2 separate regions of the Homo sapiens genome follow, and region 1 is linked to region 2. The links are contacts of gene promoters, found by promoter capture Hi-C in blood cells and fetal thymus (Javierre and others, 2016). All regions are on one chromosome and are shown on one strand. The core of a region is centred on a gene start or on the middle of the fragment in contact, and the rest is flanking DNA. Distances in the headings are between cores, read along the strand shown. Region 1 overlaps EPG5 (ectopic P-granules 5 autophagy tethering factor). Region 2 holds the start of SLC14A1 (solute carrier family 14 member 1 (Kidd blood group)).

Evidence for each region. The method cuts DNA at HindIII sites, captures the fragments that hold promoters and counts their contacts. A CHiCAGO score of 5 or more calls a contact.
Region 1: a fragment that was not itself captured here is called in contact with the fragment with the promoter of SLC14A1 in region 2 in 4 of 17 cell types (endothelial precursors, M0 macrophages, M2 macrophages and 1 more); the score reaches 6.4 in endothelial precursors.

What each region holds. Positions count from the first base shown.
Region 1 is chr18:45,878,675-45,881,899 of GRCh38, forward strand. It overlaps EPG5 (ectopic P-granules 5 autophagy tethering factor), which reads right to left. Exons shown (of 44, transcript NM_020964.3): 32 at 1,401-1,549; 33 at 339-540. Among named protein-coding and RNA genes, the nearest start is that of SIGLEC15, 55 kb to the left of the region's middle. The HindIII fragment of the contact is 2,136 bases long and covers 497-2,632 here.
Region 2 is chr18:45,721,893-45,728,836 of GRCh38, forward strand. SLC14A1 (solute carrier family 14 member 1 (Kidd blood group)) reads left to right here and starts at 2,289. Exons shown (of 10, transcript NM_015865.7): 1 at 2,289-2,381; 2 at 3,058-3,121. The region is part of intron 6 of LOC105372093 (a long non-coding RNA gene); the gene reads right to left. LOC105372092 (a long non-coding RNA gene) reads left to right here. Exons shown (of 4, transcript XR_935422.3): 3 at 105-318; 4 at 1,046-1,143. The HindIII fragment of the contact is 29,148 bases long and covers 1-5,493 here.

The sequences.
Region 1 (3,225 bases), core at 315-2,814, 160 kb after region 2:
TTATAACACACTTTTAAAAAAGATAAATGTATAAGATTTAGAACCCCATCTTAGTAAGACAAATGACAGAAAGGGTTGGAAACTGAAACCTCTCTGTACCCCAACCTGCAAAGGAGGGGCAGAGACAAGCTATAGCAAGCACCCTACATTCACTATGTAATGAATATATCCATTCATATATTGTGACATATATGACACATATATGGGCTCATGCCTGTTCTATATATTTCTACTTTCTCTCCTTGACACTCAATATAAATCTCTTAATGTGCCTATTTAAATCTCTCTTAATGGAAAGTCCAAACACCTAGCTCCACATCGCATGAGAAGTATATTACCTGTTTTCCTGCTGGCAGTTGGGTCTTGGGCCAAACAGGTCATTTCTAAGTCAATCAGCCTTTTCACAAGGTAGCCCAAGAATGTCTTCACATCAGCCATATAAGGACTCCATTTTGAGAATAAACCAAAGCTTTTAAAGTCCATCTTGGATAACCGAAGCTTATAAAAAAAGTCTGAAAGCCACTGTATAGTCTCCATTACCTGGAAGAGACAACTAGTCAAAAAATGCTTACTAAATATGTATTTTAGTAAAGTGTTATGATACACTGTGATGGGGGTGTATATAGTAGGTCTTTGACTTTATAAGAGAGTGGCAAAAATATAAAGCATATGAGAAATAAATCAATGGTTTTTTGTTTTTGTTTTTGTTTTGAGGTAGAGTCTTGCTCTGTCGCCTAGGCTGGAGTGCAGTGGCACGATCTTGGCTCATCGCAACCTCCGCTTCCTGGGTTCAAGCGATTCTCCTACCTCAGCCTCCTGAGTAGCTGGGACTACAGGCGTGCACCACCATGCCCAGCTCATTTTTGTATTCTTTAGTAGAGACAGGGTTTCACCATGTTGCCCAGGCTGGTCTCGAATCCCTGACCTCAAGTGATCCGCCCACCTTGGCCTCCCAAAGTGCTGGGGTTACAGGCATGAGCCACCGCGCCAGGCCATCAGTGGGTTTCAAACCTTTTCTAAATCAGTGGAACCATTATTTCAAATAAATTCTCATGCAAATGCATATCAAACAGAAAGGATAAAACCCAGAGCTCCATGGGACACTGCATCATAGAAACCCGACCAGAGGTCTCAGGGTGGAGTCCGATGGGCTAGGGTGGGCAGGAAAGATCTACAGGGGAGTGCCTGCCCTTGTCTTGGATACATGGGCAAGAATTAGACTCAGGGGAATGGGGTGAGCCATCTGGAAAAAGGGGACACGAGGGAACCAAAGCACTTAACACAAAGAAAAACACATGGCTCTTAAAGATAATGCACAAGTTTTCCAACTGCTTAAAAAATGAATAGCAAGGGAAATAAAAAGAAATGCACAAACACGTCAGAGACCAAAGGCTACACACCTGCTTGTCTGACAAGAGAGCATCAGAAGAGCTGGGAAGCACGGCGCCCTCGGTGGACGCTGCCCCCTGCTGGCAGCTGGGGGCGCAGCAGCCCAGGGCTCTCAGAGTGGCCTTCCAACACTCGGGGCTCAGAAGCTGCTCCGCGGAGCCTGCCAGCAGGGACAGGAAGAGCAAGTCAGTGGCTTTCCCGAAAGGAATATTTTAACTTGTAACAAAGAATATGAGCACCTTATAAAGGAATAAAAATAAAGCCAAAATCCAAAACAAACTCACAGGGATATCTGGGGTGAGGAGGCCCAAGTAAAGAGAACCTAAGAGAAGAACTGGCCACCTGCACATTTGGTTTTCCTGGTTCCTGGTAACCCTGCTGGGAGTGAGCGCTGCTGAAGCTGGTGGAGCTACACTCAGAGGGGTGGGAGACCTGACCCTCCGACCCTGACTGGGGAATGGTGGCAGTGCCTCTCCTGGCTGGGGGACCACAGCTATCTATGAGTGTGACAGAAACAACAGTCACAGGACAACGGAAACCACATGATGAAGGCAACTCAGGGCCTGGGCTCTCCAGAAGGAGTCTCCTACCGGCCCCCCAATTCCCCGAAACCAAGACCCAGAGGCAGCATGGAAACGCTGGACAAGTCCAGCAGCCCATATTCTGAACTAGTCCCAACTCTGCTACTTAATAACTTCCCATCCCACAGGACAGGAATAATATCTCCTAAAGTACTTTCCACCCAGAGCGAACATGAGAATCAACTAAAATAACAGGTTCATGGAGCAGGTCTGAGGAGAACGATGGTGAGGCCAGTTACAATATGTCCAGTGTGAGGTACCTGGGGACAGTGCCAGTCTGTGTCCAATGGCCACTGGGGTCTGGATCTTAGGACAGCGCCCCAAAATTAAGCTATCACTGGAAATCACACATGCCTAGAAGGTGGCAGTGACATCAGGGAAAACAACGGGCTCACCCAGAGGGAATGAATGCAGTAGAAGAGCAAAGGATGCTCCCAAGGGAACATCAACATGGTAGCCAAGGAGGAGAAAGAAACCAGGAGGCTGAAGCTCATGACATCTGAGAGGTATCATATTGTTATTCTTAAGTCTGAATTACTTTTCTTGGTAAGAACAAATTTCTAGCTAAATTCCAGTCAATAGTGGTCTAATATAAATGGTTTACAATCTCTTTAAAAGATTTCAGGGAAAAATCCACAACACACACTATTTGAAACTTTAAAAGCTTAGAGAAAAAATTAGCTATGCACATATTCATTGGCATTTGTACAAATGTATTTCCCTTCCACCATTCTCCACCCACCCTGCAACCTGCCTCTGTGGGAAACAATTAAAGCTTGAAGTGCTTTCAAAATGAGAGGCTGCACATTTCAAGGTCCTTTGGGCAACCCGATACACTGGATCATTAACTTATCCATTAAACTATTTCTATGATGTAACACAAAAATTTGGTATAAAGCAAAATTTCATTTGCTATTATATCTATAAACCGTATGAAGTTTGCATTAAAAAGTAAATACTATCTCATTTATCAAATTTTAATAAAATTACTGCCTAGCGAAACTCCAAAAATAAAAAAGCCTACCCTATTTATTTCTCCTCTAAACTCTAAAATTGCTATAGAAAATTGTAAGAAGGGGGAACAGAAGTGGCAGGAATGTGGAGATTGTAATGCTGCTCTTTCCCTTGGTAAATATAAATAAAGTCTATCATTACATATGGATAAAATTAATTTGCAAAAAACAAGAGTAAAAGACTTAGAAAGGAAAAACTCCCAAAATGTTTGGAACTACAGAGAAACAAACTGTCATATTAA
Region 2 (6,944 bases), core at 1,039-3,538:
AGAATTTGGCAAGCCCTGCATCAGAAAGCTACCTAGTTCACAGTTCTTGAATGAAGCAAATGGTTTCCTCTGTACTCATAACTGCACCCCTTCTGATGTCAAAGCAGGGAGAAGTTTGTCCCCTTATTCAAGCCAGGAGGAAGGTTCCATTTGGAAACCCCCAAGGTAAACCAGTGCTGATTGAGAGGGGCTGACATCAGAATGGGGGCACCTCTACATGTTCGGCACGGTGCTTTGAAGATGTCATCCCTCATCACAACTTTATAAAGGAAGAAAAGTTACCCCACTTTACACTGAGGAATCTGAGGCTCAGAAACTGTGAGTAACATGCCTAAGGTCATACAGCTTGTCAGAGAAAAGCTAGTATTCAAACTCAGGTTTATCTGACTTGGAATTCCATGTGCCTTGTGCTGCCTTGTGCATACAATATGGCAAGGCTGTAATTTGTGGCCCCCCACTTAAGGTGTGGCTTTACAGGGACCAGGAGAAAGGCCAGGGAGGGAGGGTGGGTACAGAAAGAGGTGGTTTTTCCAAGGAGGTCTGAGATTCACTACACACCTTCAGCCCTGACCAGTGCGACTGAGGCAGAAGGCTCCATGGGTGTCATGTGGAGGCAGCTTCAGGATGAGGTCCATAAATATGCATCATGGCCAAGTTGAGTGAAGGAATTAATGAAAAGCAAACATACAGGCAGAAGTTGGAAATATTGGACAGCACTGGAGTGGCTAAAAGTACAAACTTTGAGTCAGACTTTGAGCAAGTTATTTAAACTCTGAGCCTCAGATTGCTCATCTACAAAATGGGGACAATAGTATAATATAGGAATTTTGCAAATGCTCTACCATTTGTGGCAGTTATTATTCTCATTACCATCATTAGCATGATTATTTCTATCAGGGACAGTGGTCCATTTGCATAAGGAAGTCATGGAGACACTAGTATGATTCCTTTCATTCCCAAAGCAGGCCACTCACACTGTCTCCTGAAGATTCATTTTTCTCCTTCAGGGAAACCCGAGGAGCTTATTTTCTCCTTATTTTACCAGGGAAAAAATGTTGGAAGGAGATTTGCCTGAACCTGGAAACTCTTATTATGAACCTAGACCTATACACACCCTACCTCAGCTGCTCGGGAGGCACTTGGAGGAAGGATGTCCCAAGCCGGCAAGAACCCTGTGGTCTGGCGGGTGTCCAGCGGGTGGAGCCAGAGAGCTCCCAGCCATGGGCCACCTAGCTGAAGGCTGATAAGTACTATCTGCACATCCAAGCAGGCAGGAGACCCAGATAAAAGACCTATGACATCTGCATGGCTGGCTGTGGGATTACATATATATATTATATATATATTTAAAAGTATATGTATATATGTATATATATTACATATATACACACATATATATCTACACATATGTAATATATGTATATATGTATATTTATTATATGTATATATCTACATATATACATGTATGTATGTAATATAGATGTATATATGTTACATATATACACACATATACATATATACACATATATTTTTTTAAAATTCTGCACTCATAAAAGTAGATTTGAGTTAGATTTTTGCCATAACAGAACAAGCCACAAAATTGAAATTTAAAAAGAAGGGGGAAGGAGGAGATATTTTAATTCAGTTTTAGATTTCCCTGCTATAGAATGTTTGCTTCCTGACTTTTAAAGAGGCAGCAGAGTATGTCCAAGAATTCTCACCTGGGAAGACAGACATTCCAGGGAAACACTGATATTTTTGTTTTCTCCTCACTGGGAAAAAGGCAGCTGGCCTTCAGAAAACAACTTGCATGTACCTTATCTTCCCCACCCTCCCAACAGCCCCTCAGGCCCTTGCTGGAGTCTTACATCTGTGTAGAAGTTGTGCCAAGTCTAAGAAAATTTCACCCCAGGAGCAGTCGCTTAGCTTCCGAGTCCACACAGCAGCAACCTGCCCCATGGTTTTTAGTTTGACACCGTGTTGATCCTTTTCAGTTGTAAATCTTTCCAAAAATATGAGTAGGGGCCAGAGGAAACAGGAGAAGAAAAAGATGCATTTTGGTAGGATTATTGCTGGTCAAAGACCTTGGAATGCTGTGGAAACTGTGGCAAAGCAGTTGGTACTCTGTCAAGAACAGAGAGAGAGACATCGGGTACTGAAGCCAGGGGACCAGTTCCTTGGTGTTGCTTTGGCATTGATGCCTGAAGTGGGAGGAGAAAGCCGAGCCCACAAACACACAGAGCAGAGTGGGGCTCTGAGTATATAACTGTTAGGTGCCTCCCTCCAGCACCATCTCCTGAGAAGCACTCTCCCTTGTCGTGGAGGTGGGCAAATCTTTATCAGCCACTGCCTTCTGCTGCCAGGAAGCCAGCTAGAGTGGTGTAAGTACTCATCCTTATTTCTATTCATTTCCAACTATTCATCATTTGGGGCTTGTCTTCACAGTTCTAAGTTTTGCTCTTTTTCTTAATGAAGAAAATGTTTTATATCACCGGAATTGATCAGAAGTAGCAAAATCAGAGTTCTGGTAGACTAGAAAGCAATTTACCAAAGCCACAGGCTTCTTCCTGGAAGCTCAAAGGCATGCCTTTATTCGTGATTTCTGAAGCAAGGTGCATGCAGCACCTGAGCTGATGTGGAAGAGGGTTTGCAGGGAGGTGTCCACCCAATGTGCTCAATGATTCTGGGTTAATCAACACTATTAGGAGTTTCAGGTTGTGTTCTTGAAATAATAATTTGGGCTGTGTTCTTGAAATAAGTTCGAGGCGAGTGTCTACAAGACTCAAAAGAAAAAAGTGGGCCACTGGGAATGGCCCTTTCCAGTGATGGATTTATGGACTCCTCTGTGTGTGCTGTCATGCTGAAGGGAATGTTCTTGTGCACCCATCGGGAGAACAAGTCAGTCACAACTGAAGCCACGAATTTGGCAGCTTCCTTGCAGCTGCACTCTCTGGAGTCTGGAATCAAGACTTCTGGGAGTAGTGTTTTCCAAGGAGGGAAGTGTTTTAACCAGGACACAGGAATATCTGACAGCATTTTCTTTGTTTCCAATTACAGCTTTAAAGAAAACTGGGCATCTCCTGCTACTTAAAATCAAAAACTACCTAAAATAAAGATTATAGTAAGTACCAAATAAGTGTCAATGCTGAAAGTCTCTTTATTATGCTAGACCATGAGTGTTTAAATGCTTTCTTCTATATCCATATCCAACACTTCATATTATTTTTAAAAGTAATAGCTGAAGCATGGAAAATTGAAGACTTCAGGTCTCTCCAATTGCACAAATTTCTAATACATGCTGGCAATAGAATATATTTTATTTCGTGTAATAAAATAGAGGATATTAGTTGACCTGAAATCTTGATATTGCCTTGTATTAAAATGCTAAGCACTGCTTCATTTTACTAGTGATCTGGGGTATGAAAAGTGCTTTTTGACTTCTGCTGGAAAGCTCTTCAGGTGCAGCTTCCAGGATATTCTTGGGATGTTAACTTCAGCACACATAAGCCTTGCTGTAGATGTGTCAGCTTTGAGGCACAGGGAGACATTTGTTTGTCAGAGAGTAACTGCTTCTGGCAAGGGCATAGGGTGAAACTGGGGATAGCAGAGCTCTTTCTTTGTGGTTGTTCAACCCCCACCCCAAGATTAGTTCAAAGTGACCGTGAAGATAGTCTGTGCCCACCGCATCGCTAAGTCCTAGCCCTCTCTGCATACTCCAGCACACAGAAACTGCTGCTTCACTTGTTTGTTGACTTGAACCGAACCTTGGGTGGCATTAATGTGCCTGGCCCAAGACTGAAAAATTAAGAACCACCAGAGCTGACCTATTCCATAAGACCCAGTCTGCCTGCCACGTACTGAGTGAATCTGGATGATGCCCACTCTGATCCTTGGTTTTCTCTTCTATAAAATGAAGGCTTGAACTACGTGGTCTCTAAAATCCTACCTAGCTCTCAAATTTCTCTTGGTTCTAGGAAAATATTGATGTTGAGCTCAAGGAAGGGGTTCTCCAAGGTGTGTGATTTTGGTGGTAGAGGAAAGGCCGGTGCCAGGCAGGGGCAGAAGGAGACGCTGTCTACACTGAGAAAATGTGACAACCCCTGCTTGTCTCTTTTTTCATTCTTCATTGTTTCTTATTTCTTTGTTTTTAGCTTTATATAACATGAGAGCCCTACCACTGGGTTTCTTAACCATTTGTTCTTTATCAAATAAAAATATTCATAATGCAACATGCAGGCACATCAGTGTGGTACAGAACTAGCCAGCTAGTTTACTATAGGTAAATATACACACATGCATGCACACACACAATTTTTACCTGAGACATGTCAGAAGTGTTTCCTAAAATTGTGGATTTTTCTGAGTCATTCTGGTAAAGGGTAGGTTTTCAGGTTTTAGGCCAAGCCAGAAGAAGAAAGTAAAAACAGAATAAACAACAGGGGGAGAAAAAGAGAAATACCACACACACAACTGGAACTTCTGGTAAAAGAGTGATATTCTTGGATGCAATGGAAGTTTTAAAAAGGAAAAAGAAAATTTATAAAAAGCTGCCACATTTGTGGAATTCAACTAAAAACTGTTTATTATTAACAAAGTGATGTTCAAAATTTAAGAGTTCTTGGCCTGGCATGATGACTTATGCCTGTAATCCCAGTGTTTTGGGAGGCTAAGGTGGGAGGATCACTTGAGGCCAGGAATTCAAAACCAGCCTGGACAATACAATGAGACTTTGTCTCTAAAAAAAAATAAAATAAATTAAAATAAACACAGCTGGATGTGGTGGCACAGGAAAAAAAAATACCATTTAGGAGTCTCTTAAAGGCAGCTTGTGAATGCTTACAAAGCGTGGCTAGTATCTTATTACAGAAAACAGAGCCCACATCATGCATCCTTCTTCTCACATTTCATAAACAAGGCCAAGGGAAACTGCTGTGGGGCAACCTGTTGCTTTGGTGTTGGTCCCCAAGATGCAGCCCTCACAATCTGCCCCCAAACGTGTCAGAACATGAACCCCCTCCTCCCCCTCTGGAAGAAGCAACCTCAGATCCAACAGCAGAGACACGCAGCAGAACAAAATCTGGGCATTGGTCCCTGTGTAGGATGGCTTCCCGTTATTTTTTTTTTAAGCAAAGTAAATGAACATCAAATTTCCATAGTCAGCTGCTGTCTTTCTGCCCACTGAGAGCTCTTTGGTGAAGGCAAAGTCCTCCTTCTTCATTAGCGGTCTCCCATGTGGGGCCACATCTTCCCTCACCAGGAACCCAGTGGGCGCGCTCCAGCCCCCCTCAGCTTGCCTTTTGCGTGGTCATTAGAGCTAGGGCACACGTCATGCTGATTCACATATTTTTGCCCTTTGTCATGTATTGAGAAAAAGTAAGGATGAATGGACGGTCTTTGATTGGCGGCGCTGGTGACGCCCGTCATGGTCCTGTTTGGAAGGACCCTTTTGGAACTAAAGCTGGTGACGCAGCGCGCAGAGGCATCGCCCGGCTAAGCTTGGCCCTGGCAGATGGGTCGCAGGAACAGGTATGCTTCCTTCGTGCAGCCTCTGGCTCGGGGAACCTGGGAGCCTGCTCCAAACTCTGGTGTATCTTTTCCGGGCAGAGCCTGGGAAGTGGGGGTTGGCTGTGAGCTAAGCCAAAGGCACAGGGATCTTGGTCCAAAAAGCCCCATGGCGCTCACCTTGGTTTAGAGGCTAGACCATTGAGCTGAGAAGTTTTGACAGCCATGGAAAAGCTGGGGATAAGTCACCTGGGGTTTTACGTTTACCCTGTGTCTATTTTATTAGAGTGCCTTTTACTTATTGTCCCTTCTTCTTAGTTGAAATTAATGGCCTGCTTCACTGGGGCTAAGATGTTTGAACATTAGCAGAAGGTCCTGGCTGCATAGCCTTGCCTTGTCTTCCCAGTTAGGATGTAAGGACTCTTAAAGTTCCCTAAGAAATGCAAATATTTTAGCATGGCAAAATTCTAGGCCAACTACAACTGTAAGTTTCGTATTTCTCCTAAGTGGTTCTCATGCCTGACTTCTGGAGCAAGGAGTCAGGTCTCCCAGGGGCTCTAGAAGGGTTCAGCTGTTCAGAATAAATGGTTCCTGGGGACTCTAAAATAGCAGCAACTGTCTGCCCAGGTCATGAGAAGACCCCTCTCTGCAGGACATCCTAGCCCTACAACCCATCCCAATTATGTTGAAATTAGATTCACAAATGGCAATAAGTCTTCTATATGTTGGGCTGTCGATTTGGAGAAAACTAGTTTAATCTTTACTTAACTTTGGGTGGCTCAACAGGAGACTCGGGCCGCTCAGGCTCTCAATCACGTCTGGCCAGTTCTATTATCAGGTTTCGAATCTGTATCTCCAAAATCTCTGAGGTGATGGGATATTTCAAGCCCTCTAAAATAAATAAATATATGCTGGGAATTTTGAGAACATGAATTTGTTTATTCTGAAATGGTCCATGTTCCTGCTTTGGGAGTTGATGGAAAATGCCACTTGAGTGTTTTCATTTGATGCTGCCACCTTAGGGTTTTATAGATTCAGTTCCAGAAACTCAAGGCATTTATCTCTTTGGGCTGCTTGTCCTTGCCTGAGCTGAAGCCTGATGCCTCCCATAAGTTGGTATGGCTTTGAAAATGGGTCACTACAGCAGAGGCATGGGCTTATCAAGCAATATGTTCAGCTATGAAATTTGAAGAGGGAGATAATCTGAAAATAAATGACAGCCACCACTTAGATTATGAAATAGAAGTACTTTTTCATAAGTGCTTAATTATTCATACGGTTTTTTATCTTTAACTATGGAGCCAACTCAGCTCCATATGGACTTAATTTTGGTTCCTGACCTCCAAGATTCATTGCAAGTCACACAGATGTTGGTATCTAACATTGTTTTACCGAGATAAAATGACCTTGGTCTGGAATGCATTGTATAAAAAGCTGCTTTT